Linked DNA regions of Homo sapiens: region 1 is linked to region 2. Evidence: promoter capture Hi-C in human tissues and cell types (Jung and others, 2019). All regions are on one chromosome and are shown on one strand. Each heading gives the region's core, a stretch centred on a gene start or on the middle of the fragment in contact. The rest is flanking DNA. Distances are from core to core; before and after follow the strand shown.

Evidence for each region. The method cuts DNA at HindIII sites, captures the fragments that hold promoters and counts their contacts. A contact is called where the count stands out against the background at its distance.
Region 1: a contact is called between a fragment that was not itself captured here and the fragment with the promoter of PSMA5 in region 2, in 2 of the 25 tissues and cell types used here (dorsolateral prefrontal cortex and hippocampus).

The regions. Positions count from the first base shown.
Region 1 is chr1:109,168,328-109,175,807 of GRCh38, reverse strand. It overlaps ELAPOR1 (endosome-lysosome associated apoptosis and autophagy regulator 1), which reads right to left. Exons shown (of 22, transcript NM_020775.5): 4 at 3,795-3,942; 5 at 3,240-3,320; 6 at 2,229-2,334; 7 at 1,971-2,120. Among named protein-coding and RNA genes, the nearest start is that of SARS1, 42 kb to the left of the region's middle. The HindIII fragment of the contact is 4,966 bases long and covers 3,341-7,480 here.
Region 2 is chr1:109,423,867-109,430,476 of GRCh38, reverse strand. It overlaps PSMA5 (proteasome 20S subunit alpha 5), which reads left to right and starts at 4,029. Exons shown (of 9, transcript NM_002790.4): 1 at 4,029-4,175. The coding sequence starts at 4,147. RefSeq lists enhancers at 3,469-3,528, 3,035-3,966. The HindIII fragment of the contact is 7,725 bases long and covers 681-6,610 here.

The DNA.
Region 1 (7,480 bases), core at 4,574-7,073, 260 kb after region 2:
TCACCCAGGCTGGAGTGCAGTGGCACGATCTCTGCTCACTGCAACCTCCACCTTCCGGGTTCAAGTGATTCTCCAGCCTCAGCCTCCTGAGTAGCTGGGATTACAGGCACACGCCCCCACGCCGGGCTAATTTTTGTATTTTTAGTAGAGACGTGGTTTTGCCATGTTGGCCAGCCTGGTCTTGAACTCCTGACCTCAAGTGATCTGCCTGCCTCGGCCTCCCAAAGTGCTGGGATTACAGGCGCGAGCCACCACCCCTGGCCTATATTATAATCTTATATAATGTTTCATTTAAAATTTCACCACTGACTGGGTGTGGTGGCTCACACCTGTAACCCAGCACTTTGGGAGGCCGAGGTGGGCAGATCACCTGAGGTTGGGAGTTCGAGACCAGCCTGGCCAACATAATGAAACCCTGTCGCTACTAAAAATACAAAATTAGCTGGGCATGGTGGTGCACGCCTGTAATCCCAGCTACTTGGGAGGCCGAGGCAGGAAAATTGCTTGAACCCGGGAGGCAGAGGTTGTGGTGAGCCGAGATCACGCCACTGCATTCGAGCACTCCAGCTTGGGCAACAAGAGTGAAACTCCGTCTCAAAAAAAAATAAAAATAAAAATAAAAATTCACCACTTAAAAAAAATGACTGGACTGGGCACAGTGTCTCATGTCTGTAATCCCAGCACTTTGGAAGGCTGAGGCAGGAGGATCACTTTGAGGTCAGGAGTTCGAGACCAGCCTGGGCAACACAGTGAGACCGTGTTTCTACAACAGCAACAAAAAGATTGCAACCCAGGCCGGGCGCGGTGGCTCATGCCTATAATCCCAGCACTTTGGGAGGCTGAGGCGGGCGGATCACGAGGTCAGGAGATCGAGACCACCCTGGCTAATACAGTGAAACCCTGTCTCTACTAAAAATACAAAAAATTAGCCGGGCGCAGTGGCGGGCGCCTGTAGTCCCAACTACTCAGGAGCCTGAGGCAGAAGAATGGCATGAACCTGGGAGGCAGAGTTTGCAGTGAGCTGAGATCGCGCCACTGCACTCCAGCCTGGGCGACAGAGAAAGACTCCGTCTCAAAAAAAAAAGGATTGCAACCCTTTCCTTAGCTTCCCTAATCCCTCTAGCTCTGAGCTGCTTTTTCTTTTTGCCATGACACCATGGCACTTTTTACCATCTCACATACTATATAATTTATTATATATGTATCATCTATTTCTTTTTGTTTATTGTCTCTCTTCCCCCCACCCCCGAATGTAAACCCCATAAAAACAGGGACCTTTGTCTGTTTTGTTCACTGACGTATTCCAAGCACATAGAATAGGGCCTGGTAGATAGGAGAGGCTCAATATTTATTGAATGATTTTTTTTTTTTTTTTTTTTTTTTTTTTTTTTTTTAGAGACAGGGTCTTACTCTGTCACCCAGGCTGTAGTGCAGTGGTGTGATCATGGCTCACTGAAGCTTCAACCTCCTAGGCCCAATTGATCTTCCCGGTTTGACCTCCCAAAGTGCTGAGATTATAGGCTCACAGCTTGAGAGGCTGAGGCAGGAGGATCACTTGAGCCCAGGAGTTCAAGACCAGCCTGGGCAACTAGCAAGACCCCTGTCTCTATAAAAATAAAAATAAAAAATTAGCTGGGTGTGGTGGGGCACGCTGGTAGTCTTAGCTACTCAGGAGGCTGAGGCGGGAGGATTGCTTGGGACAGGGAGTTTGAGGCTGCAGTGAGCTATGATCGCACCACGGCACTTCAGCCTGGGTGATAAAGTGAGACCCTATCTCAAAAAAAAAAAAAAATGACAAAGTGATTAATGGATATATGGATTGGCAAGGGTATTCCAGGATCCAGAAAGGAAGGGTTTAAGAATTACCATCCTCAGCTTGGCCAGAAGGATGGCTCTATTCCCTGGTATCTCCTTGTGTGTTTTGGTGGTACTCTCTATCCCCAAACTCTTCCCACCCTCAGAAACATCACCTGAGTATTTGTCAGGGTCACACTGGTGGCAAGAAGTTTCTCCTTTATTTGAATAAGAGTTGGCTGGGCAAAGTTTGCAGAAAGAGGAGCCCTGCTTGTCTGCATACGTGCCAGGTTTGCAGGGGAAGCATTCTGAAGTGTAGGCCACCCCTAGGGAGGAGGAAGAGCACAGAAAAGCAAGGATTCAGCCTGGAGACTGAGTCCCCAGGAGACTGCAAAGTCAACAGCCCAGGAAGTCAGTAACCCTGCTCTCAGTACCTGTTATGGCAATGTTTCTCACCAGCACAGGCTTGGGTACTTTGGTCCATACTGAGAAGGCTGTGGTTCTCCAATAGAGGACATTATTGCCTCGATTTAGCTCCACCTAAAAACCACAAACAGGAGCATTCATTCATCACAGAGAAAAATCTCGCTAATCTGTTGGTATAGCCTCTTGTTGGGATGACTTCTCTTACTAACTGCATGGTAATGCTTCTTCTGACCCTCTTCCTCCTCTTCCTCAGCTCTGTCCTTCTTCCCAACTTAGCACAGCTCCTCTCTCTTTCTAAGCCTCCTCTTACAACCCTCCCACCACTCCCTGGATCATATATACCATGAGCATCTCTTATGGTGAGACCAGTAAAGAGACCTGAGGGTCCTGACAACAGGGTGACTGGCACTCCCTCATTCTTCTGTGGTTTTGCAGGGGGACAGCCCCCCTCCCCAGAATACCCAGTCTTTTTTTTTTTTTTTTTTTTTTTGAGACAGAGTTTCGCTTTTGTTGCCCAGGCTGGAGTGCAATGGCTCGATCTCAGCTCACCACAACCTCCGCCTCCTGGGTTCAAGCGAGTCTCCTGCCTCAGCCTCCCGAGTAGCTGGGATTACAAGCATGGGCCACCATACCTGGCTAATTTTTTTGTATTTTTAGTAGAGATGGGGTTTCTCCATGTTGGTCAGGCTGGTCTCGAACTCCTGACCTCAGGTGATCCACCTGCCTCGACCTCCCAAAGTGCTGGGATTACAGGCATGAGCCACCATGCCCGGCAGAAGACCCAGTCTTAAAGCTGGAAAGCTGCTGGTCTTTGGAGTCAAGCCATAGAAGCTACAAGTCAGCTCACACCCATATTCTGTCAATGCTAGAGGACAGTAACTACAGCATCTTCATCATATCACATTCCTGCCCTCCAGGGACATTGGGGTGGAGGCTCAGACTGGGAGGAAGCACTCTCTGAGGAAAGGCCCTGGGTCCCTTTTCTGGGATCTCTGGGAGAAGGCTGGTGTGATACTCACACTGTGGAATTCCCATCCTTTCTCTGTGGTCTTCATCCACCTGGAGTCATCTGCATTGGGCTGGCACTGGTCATTCTGAACCTGACATAAAAAGAGTTTGGGACCAGAGTCTCAGCTTTCTAAGGAAATGGATACCTTTCCCCACATTGCACCAGCCCTCCAGAGGGCCCTTCTTTATATGGGAAGAGTTGCCAATTTCCTTTAGGGATTGAGCTCAAAACACATGAGCCTCAAAGTAGGGCAGGAGTTAGTCACACACACAAAATGAGCGTTGACACCAAAGAAATAACTTGTAACTCAGATGTGCTGTTTTCATGTCTGAGCTGGATAAAACACTTAGAAATCTGCCAGACAATTCTTCCCCCAATAGTCCTTTCACTTTTGCCTTTTCTTCTTGCCTCCTGGGCCTCAGCTCATTTTGCCCACAGCTCTCTCCAGAGAGAAAACAACAGTGATTCCCCCAAGCAGGGCTACACTCATGATGGATTCCTCAAACGGATCTGAACCCCAGAGAGGCTTTTTAGCTCCCACCCTCCACCTTGGCCAGGGGCTTACGAAAAACTCAAAGATGATGCTGGAGTCTGGATAGTAGTATTCGAAGTTAACGGTGCCAGATTGCTTCAGGTTGACGGCGTACATCAGTGTGGCTGTGCATTCGTCCGTGTTGGAGGCGATGTAGTCGCCCCGGGGAACCCACTTGGACCTGTGAAGGAACAGGAACCAGGTTCACAGGCAGGAGCACAGCCCACCAGGCTTTGTGCCATGTGCAGGTCTCATGTTCTGCTGGGTCTTTGGGAATTTTCAGGCTTGTGATTCACAAACTGAAACTTGGACCTGAAAATGCTCAGTGAAGAAAGACAAAAGAAGCTCTCAGGTAGGTCAAGGACCTGGAGTACAGCTAAGAAGAGGAAGGCAGACAGGTGAGGAAAACAAGCAGGCATGCCTCCACATTGTGCAGAGCTACCTGGGATACGGGTGGCAGGTGAAGTTGGGGAGGGCTAACATCTTTTTTTTTTTGAGGCAGAGTCTCGCTCTGTCTCCCAGGCTGGAGTGCAGTGGCGTGGCCTCGGCTCACCACAACCTCTGCCTCCCGGGTTCAAGCAATTCTCCTGTCTCAGCCTCCCGAGTAGCTAGGATTACAGGCATGCACCACCACACCCAGCTAATTTCTGTATTTTTTTTTAGTAGAGACAGGTTTTCACCATGTTGGCCAGCCTGGTCTCGAACTCCTGACCTCAAGTGATCCACCCACCTCGGCCTCAAAAAGGGCTGGGATTACAGGCATGAGCCACTGCGCCTAGTCAGGGAGGGGTAACATTTATTGGTTGCTTACTACCTTCCAGGAATTGAACTACGTGCTTTATATTCATGATTTATTTTCATCAATAAGAGGAAATGTTTTTTCTGTTTAAGAGATGATGAAACTGGGGCTTGGAGAGTGCCAAGCCCAGTATTACGAAGCAGCGAGTGGCAGGGCTGAAATCAGGTCTGCCAAACTCTAAAGCTGTCAAATAACTCAGTAGACACAGATATTCTTCAGAACTCAGACATCCACCCAGTCTAGTCTACCTGTTTTTCCAGAAATGTCTACTATAAGATGCTGCATGTAAATGGTTTTTATGGAAACAAGGAGGGCCGGAGAACCCTGGAGACAGCCAACCTGGTCATGTCTGTTTTATCTCCTAAATACGTGTTCACTCTATCCACCCTGTCCACGGGCTCTCCCTACACTCACCACCACACCATCTATGAACCAGCCCCCAAACTTGTCTCCCTGAAGCCAGTCCCACATCCTCCAAGCCCTCTGCATGCTGCAGCCCAGCGGACAGATCCTCCAGAATAGACGTCTGACCATGGCACTCCCTTGCTTCAAATTAAAACCCCTGGGACTGACTCCCTGTGGCCCTTAGGATAGGGTACAAATTCCTGATGCACTCTATATACTTCAACTCTATGACATTTCTTTCAATTCCTCTGCCAAGCTTTCTCTTACCTCTGGGCCTCCTGACATCCTCTTCCCTCTTCCTGGAATGAACTTCCTCCTCTCTCTCTCAGTTTAACTCCTACTGTGTCTTAAATGTCACTTAATCTAAAAAGTCTTCCTTGATTCTATCTGCTTCTGCTATGGGTGCCCTTAGCTCTCTTTGCTCTCCTTCTCATAGCCATAATCCCATGATATTTTATATATTTTTAGTATATTATGAAATATGTAAGACCTATACAATGGTGTAATGAACACTCCCCGACCCATCACCCTGCTTAAGAAGTTCAACACAGCAGAAGCCTCTGCGTACCCTCCACTAACCTCATCCCTTTTCCTGGAACACACTGCCTTCCCCACTGCCAAGTGACTAATTTCCTGAATCTGGTGTTTAACATGCGCATGCGGTTCTCTACATGTATGTATCTCTAAACAACATACTGTATGGTAGTGCTTCGCATGTTTTCAAGCTTCACATAAATGGTATTATATTTATGGGCTCTGAAACTCACTTTGGGAAGGAAGGGACTTCAATATACTAACTGTGAGATTCATCCATATTCACACATCCAGCTTTTTTGGCTTCGTCTTTACTACTGCATAACATTCCTTTGTACGGCTCTGCCATATATATTTGTGCATTACTCGTTGATGGACATTTGGATTGTTTGCAGTTTCATGTGCACATTCTGCTGTGTTCCTGTCTCCTTAGGCACATGTCTGAGTAGAAAGCCTGGGAGGAGAACTGTATGTGAGCCTCCCATTTACCAGCTACTGCTACACTGTTCCTGTTGCTCCACATCCTCTCCAAATTTGAAACTGTCAGACCTCAAAATTGTTGCCAATATTATGTGAGGGAAGAGACCAAATTTACCTTACTCACTAAAGTATTCCCAGCACCAGCCTGGACCTGGCACATAGTGGGGAGTCACAGGGTTAAAGAGTTGAATGTGGAAACAGGTAATCGAAAACACTCACGCTATTGCACTGTTTTGCCTGAGACCAGCCCAGGTTTCCAGTTGCTTAATAATGGCCAGTTGGGTGGGCGTGGTGGCTCATGCCTGTAATCGCAGCACTTTGGGAGGCTGAGGCGGGTGGATCACCTGAGGTGAGGAGTTCGAGACCATCGAGACCAGCCTGACCAACATGGTGAAACCCCATCTCTACTAAAAATGCAAAAATTAGCTGGGTGTTGTGGCACGTGGCTGTAATCCCAGCTCCTCAGGAGGCTGAGGCAGGAGAATCACTTGAACTTGGGAGGCGGAGGTTGCAGTGAGCCGAGATTGTGCCATTGCACTCCAGCCTGGGTGATAAAGCGAGACTCCATATCAAAATAATAATAATAATAGCCAGTTAAAGGAATCTCAGATTAGTCCACAGATTTCCCCCTGTGTTTGTCAGAATAACATGGTTATTTTCAGCTCTTTGACAGTCAGTGTTATTCTCAAAACGAAAACATATAACATGAGCTCATCCAAAATATCCCAGCTAACCTAACAGCATTGATTTCTCCTTGTTGAAAGGGATAACCTTTAATGCTGATATGCTCCACGACATCAGCTATAAATAACTCTTGAAGTTTAATAAATAATTTAAAAGATGCCATAAGTGGGTTACATTTGCAAAATGCATCATAATTCTGATTTTTGTCAGAATTGCCCCCGGTGAAGACATTTCATATTCAATAATAACAACATGTTTTGATTGATTTCTAGTGTCAGGCATCGCTCTAAATTCTTTACAAGTATCATCTCATCAATCCTTACCTCAACTATAAGAGTACTATTTTTATCATCATTTTTAGAATGAAGAAACTGAAGCCCAGAAGTGCTTAGGAAACTTACCCTAGGTCATCCAGTTGTGATCTGCATATAATGTTTTTCATTTTTAATGTTTACATTTCTCTCTCATTCTTGTTTCACTGTCACAGTCTTTGGGCGTCTGCTTGATCTTTTCCACTAATATATGACATTCTTTCTATTACACCCACGTCACTCCTGTTCCCTTAGCTTATCCTAGTTTCTGATCTCAGGCCAGTACCTTAGCCCTGGGACATCAACCCAGGACCCATGGGAGGATCCCTGAAGGCTCAGAATCCTGCCATGGAGACTCCGTTCAGCTGGTCTGTTTTGTCCCCAATTATTTATTTTGTCTATTTTGAGCCAGACACTATGTTAGATGCTGGAGACACAGTGATGAACAAGACAAGTATGATCCTTTCCCTCTTGGGGCTTGCATTCTCTTTCTAGTTGAGGAGACA
Region 2 (6,610 bases), core at 2,780-5,279:
GGCCAGAACTGTTCATTTTCTATTTCTTCAGGGGTTTGCAAGAATCAAAGCTAGCTAAACCTCTCTATATCCTTGAGTTAAAAACCTTTGTTATTTAAAAATACTCTACAAAGTGATTGAAGTAAAAAATGACACACAGGGAAGCAGCCAAATCTAAAATGTCTTTTTACATAAACAAATTGTAGTTACTAGAGATAAATGTGGATAAATGGATTTGGGGAATGTAATATTTAGAAAGAGCAAAGGGACCTAAATTTATTTGGAATCACTTTTTAAATTCTCCACATATTTTCTGCCTCACCCAGGAATGTCTGACACAAAGTACTCATATATGATGTTTGCTAACAAATGTGAGTATTTTCAACATTTATCGGGCTATTAACTTTACCAAACTACTTCATTTACTTCCAGTAGAATGACACAGCTTCCAATCTATAGTTGAAAAAGTATCTTTACTGCAATACAGTTTGTTTCATCTGTAAAATAATCATGGCAGCTTTCAATTAAGGATGATCTTCCTTTCTTTGCAAAAATGTGCAAAATAGTACCAAAATATTTGAGAACTCTCACTCTATGGGTGAACGCAGAACTTTTATTAATGTCTAAATAACTTACATTTCTCCAATGAGGAAGAGTCCGCATCTCTCAGTATATTTCACCTAAAAAGGTGTAGCCAACCAAACTTTTGTCTATTTTATTTAAAAAATTTAAAGAAATACAGTACTTAAAAACATTTTAAAGTGGCTATTTGAAATTCTGAATTTTCTACTTACTCTACTTCTCCAAGTCACACATATATTAATGTCTATGGAACTAGTATGCCTATAGCAATCAATCAATCAATCAATCCTTATCTGGAGGCCATTATCCTTAGCAAACTAATGTAGGAACAGAAACCAAATACCACATGTTCTCACTTACAAGTGAGAGCTCAATGATGAGAACACATGGACACACGGAGGGGAACAACACATACTGGGGCCTACTGGAGGGCGGAGGGTGGCAGGAGGGAGGGGATCAGGAGAAATGACTGGTGGATACTAGGCTTGATACCTGGGTGACGAAATGGTGTGTACAGCAGATCCCCATGGCACACGTTTACCTATATAACAAACCTGCACATCCTGCACATACACCCTGGACTTAAAATAAAAGTTAAAAAAATAAATACTTATTTACTAAACAAATGTATCTAGAGCATATGCCAGGTGCTAGGCTGAACAAGAGAGTACTGACCCTCAAAGAACTCACATTTCCATTATTTTCCTTTTTCCCCCCTTTAACTTAAAAAATTATTTCTGTTGTGGTAAAATATCCTAACATAAAACTTACCATTTTAACCATTTTTAAGTGTACAATTCAGTGACATTAAATACATTCACACTGTTGTGCAACCATCACTACAATCCATCTCCAGAACTTCATTATCATCCCAAACTGAAATGGTGTACCCATTAAACCCATTAACTCCTCATTCCCCTTTTCCTCCAGCCCTAGATAATCACTATTCTACTTTCTGTTTCTATGAATTTGACTATTCTAGGTACCGAACATAAGTAGAATCATACAATATTTGTCTTTCTGTGTCTTGAGATTTCGCCTAGCATAAGGTCTTCAAGTCTAATCCAAGTTGTAGCATGTATCAGAATTTCATTCCTTTTTAAAGGGTGAACAATATTCCTTTGTACGTACACACATTTTAACTTCAATTACTTTTAAATAGCTAATTTCTCATTTTATTTCTTTCAAAGACACATTATGCTAGCTGCTAGATTGTTACAATGCACTCTCTTGGGAGAAAAGATTTTCCTTCCTATCCACAATTACCTGCAGCTCCCCTTCATTTATGTTATATATAGCACAAACACATTTACCCAGAGGAGATTCTACATTCAAGAACATTTCGTAAGCAATTCACTACTGTCTCTGACATTGATAGGGTCTGCAGAGCACCATGGAACCCTGGGTGCTCAGGAAATATTATGCTAAAGTACCTACGTAGTAAAATAACTCCGTTTTTTTTGGTTTTTTTTTGAGATGGAGTCTCACTCTGTTGCTCAGGCTGGAGTGCAGTGGTGAGATCTTGGCTCACCGCAACCTCTGCCTCCCAGGTTCAAGCAACTCTCTGCCTCAGCCTTCCGAGTAGCTGGGATCACAGGCACCCAACATCACGCCCAGCTAATTTTTGTATTTTTAGTAGAGACAGGGTTTCACCATCTTGGCCAGGCTGGTCTTGAACTCCTGACCTCGTGATCCACCCACCTCGGCCTCCCAAAGTACTGGGATTACAGGCGTGAGCCCCTGTGCCTGGCCATAAAAGAACTTCTAAAGAGCAGCTGTAGTGAATTTACGACCAAGACTTTTCCATAGAAAATAACTGATAAGGTGAAAAAAAAAAAAAGCTTGTCAGAAAGCTGACAAGAAAGCTAAAAATTACCATTCTTTTCTCAGAAATCTAACAGATCCCAGAGGATTGCTACTTGGAGTTCTTCCTCAGTTTTATTAGTGCTAAACATCTGATTGGCCAGGGATGACCAAACTAAACTCCTACTGAATCCATGAAGGAAGTCAGAAAATAAAGGGTGGGGAAAACTAATCTTGGTTAATACTCAAAAGGCTTATTTTTACATTTCCTGCACCTTTGAAATGCCTTGGTGACTTACAAACCTAATCTAGGACCAAGAATGAACTTTACTGGAGAGATACAGGCCTTGAGAGGTTAAGGACTTGACTAGTGGTATCACATTAACAACTGGAAATGAGATGCTGGCATTTCCCTTTCCAGCATATACTGCCTGATAAATGATTTCTTTCCCCCGACTCCAGCTTTAAGGTGTAAGTGACAAATAGAAATTGTTCATGTTTATGGTATACAACGTGACGTTTTGATATACATATATATACACACACACACTGCAAATAATTAAATGAAGCTAATCAACATAATCCATCATCTCACATACTTTCCTGTGGTGAGAACATTTAAGGTGTACCCTCTTCACAATTTCAAGTACACAATATATGATTATTAACTATAGAACTCATCCACCTTCTCTGACTGAAACTTTGTATCATTTGACCAACATTTCCCTATATTCCCCACCCCCGTGCCAAGACTTCTTACTTGCCTTTCTTGAACAAATACTTGAATTACAGTGTTATTACGAAGCTGCAAAGTTGCTCCTCAAGCAACTTATTGAAGGGAAGCAAGAAGCGTCGAAAAAGAAAGCGCTTTTTTTTTTTTTTTTTTTTTCGGATAGGGTTTGGCTGTTGCCCAGGCTGGAGTGCAATAGCACGATCTGGGCTCAAAGAAAACACTTATTTTTCACAAACAACAGAAAAAGCAGTGAATATTTTGAAGTCTGGATCCTGAACTCTAGGTTATTTAGGTCTGAAACCTGTACTAGGGGGAGGGGTGCAAGAAAGAGTTGATAAAATTACCTTAACCATGTGGAAACTTTAAGACTTTCTTACATACTAACCCCTCGCCCCCCACTTTTCTCAATAAACGAGCCAAACTGGCTGAAACGAAGGGACTCGTCCGCGGCGCCGGCTCAGACCCACTGTAGCCGACTCATTACCGCCCAAAGTCCTGGAGCCCTCGACCGGGCATGGAGAACACCGTGGAGGAACCCTAAGAGAGGGAATCCTGCGAAGAGAAGTCAGGTGGTGGCCTTGCCGGAAACGGGACCAAAGTCCTCTAGCTGGGATTACGGGAGCCGGCGAGGGACCTATTATGTCAGGGTTCAGACAACCCAGCTCTGCATGCAAGCCTTTCCAATTGCCAGTCTTGGGGCGGGCTCACATCTTCTCTACAAGGCGAACTCACTACACGCCTTGGGTGCCTATCGTCCCTAGCAACCACCCGCGATTTAAGGCGGAAGTACCTCCCTGGTCCTCCTCCTCCTCCGGACCAACCAAGCCCTCGTGAGGAAGCGCGTTGGCCCAATCACCTAGGCGGGAACTACTACCAGCCAATAGGAAGCAGGCACAGGAGGGCGGGCTAAAGAGGTCGCGGTCGCACGCGCAGTTGGTCCTTAGTACTGCGGCCGTGTGGGTGAGTTGGCTGCCGGTGAGTTGGGTGCCGGTGGAGTCGTGTTGGTCCTCAGAATCCCCGCGTAGCCGCTGCCTCCTCCTACCCTCGCCATGTTTCTTACCCGGTCTGAGTACGACAGGTCCGTGCAGCTGGGGGACGTCGGGTGGGAATTATGGGTGGGCAGGCCCGGGACCTGGCCGCGCGGCCTGGGTTCTGCCGTGTCATGGGGCTCCCCAGGAACCCGAGACTGGCCGGACCTGGGGATGTTATGCCCTCCTCAGGCGCCCGCCGTCCTTCCCCAAGCTAGACCACATCGGCGGCACTTGTCCTACCGCTGAGTCACCCCTGGGTCCTAACTCGGTGCGGAAGCGAGAAGCTCCGGCTGGTGCTTGGTAAAGAAGGCGTGAGGAGCCGGAACTCCTACCTTGAACCCGGAGAAGGCCAAGGGTCACTCTTTGCTCCGTTCATCTTTTCGTGCCTAGTATGACTGCCTTGAACAAACAAACAAAAAGTTAAACGTGCTTCCTGGAAGAAAAAGCAACTGGTTTGTAGTAGGGCATGCTGCGGTGTATAGTTTCTTCAGAAGCGCGAAGGCAGTCGTAGCTTTGGCTGGATATATTGTCTGGAGTCTGATTTTATAGGAACTGGAATTTAGAATGGTTTTCAAGAGATTTCTCATCATGCCGATTCCAATTGACCAAAATTTTTTCTGACTTTTTAAAAGTTTAAAGCAAGTTTTAAAAAACTTTTGTGGTATGAAAATGTTCACAATATTAAGTTGTACATATATATGCTGTAGACATTTTTACTTTCAGTTTCTGTTTTCGTCAGTTAAGTTTTTACATAGCTACTCTTTTTTAAAGTCAGGGAAGGCAGACATTTTCTTTGTACTGAGTGGTATGAGATGCTGCATTTCCTGTCAAGTATATGCTGATCCTGTCGAAGTTTTACCACCTGCAGTTACCACTTTTTCATCTTTTTTACTGACTCGTAGAAGATGTGTGTGAAGTTTTGACATATTTCCCCACTGTCCTATAAAGTGACTTTGTTGGTCGATATTTAACTTCCAGAACATTGAAGAGAATCATCTTCGGGTGACATAATTTTGAGTTAGGGTGTGTATGATAGAAATTGTTATGCTTATCAGAAGGCATTTATTAAATTTTGTGGCCATTTACTTAACATATGTATTGACTGCTTTGTTACTTATTTTTCTGTCTTCCCAAGACGGCCTAAAATACATCCCTTTTTATTCTCTTAGTTAATGTGCTTGAGTGCTTGCTGTGAACAAGGCACTGTTCTAGGTGCTGGTGCTACAGCAATGGACAAAATCAAGCTCCTTGCTCGCATATAGGAGACTCTTTTGAGACAGTCTCGCTCTGTGGCCCAGGCTGGAGTGCAGTGACGTGATCTTGGCTCACTGCAACCTCCCCCTCCTGGGTTTTGTTTGTTTTTGAGACGGAGTCTCGCTCTGTCGCCAGGCTGCAGTGCAGTGGCATGATCTCGGCTCACTGCAACCTCCGCCTCCTGGGTTCAAGCGATTCTCCTGCCTCAGCCTCCCGAGTAGCTGGGACTACAGGCGCGCGCCACCACTCCCAGCTAATTTTTGTATTTTTAGTAGAGACAGGGTTTCACCATGTTGGCCAGGATGGTCTCGATCTTTTGACCTCGTGATCCACCTGCCTTGGCCTCCCAAAGTGCTGGGATTACAGGAGTGAGCCACCGCGCCTGGCCTGCCGCCTGGGTTTAAGCAATTCTCTGACTCAGCGTCCTGAGTAGCTGGGATTACAGGCGGTGCCACCACGCCCGGCTAATTTTTGTGTTTTTAGTAGAGACAGGGTTTCCTCATCTTGGCCAGGCTGGTCTTGAACTCCTGACCTCGTGGTCCACCTGCCTTGGCCTCCCAAAGTGCTGGGATTACAGGCGAGAGCCACCTCGCTCGGCCTGAGACTCTTAAAGAATTGTTTACAGGTACAGTGGCTCATGCCTGTAATTCCAGCACTTTGGAAGGCCGAGGCAGGATTGCCTGAGCTCAGGAGTTGGAGACCAGCCTGGGCAACATAGTGAGACCTCATCTCTACTAAACATTAAAAAATATCAGCCGGGTGTGGTGGCGCTGACCTTGTCTCCAAAAAAAAAAAAGAATTGTTTACAGAAGTAACTATAGTGTGAGTCAGAAATATATTAATGCCATTAGAGAAATTCAAATCAATACCATGGAAGTTTTGATGAGGGATTGCATTCAATATGAGACGATCATGGAAAACTTCACAAAGGAGCTGACATTTAAACTAGGTTTCTTGAAAGAGTAGGAATTTAATAAAGACAGTGAGATCAATAGTTGTGGGTTGGAGAATATGGGATAAATGAAGGAGGGGCAATGGAAAAGCACAATACATTTTGGGAAAAGTCCAGTCTGACTGGCACATATGATACGTGTATGGGAACAGCAGGAGATAATGGGAAAAACAGGATGCTGCTAGATATTGAATGGTTTTTAATACGAGGCTAAGGAGTTTGGGTCCTATTTCTGTAGGCAACTGTGTGCTGTTAAATAATAATTGTGTTTTACAG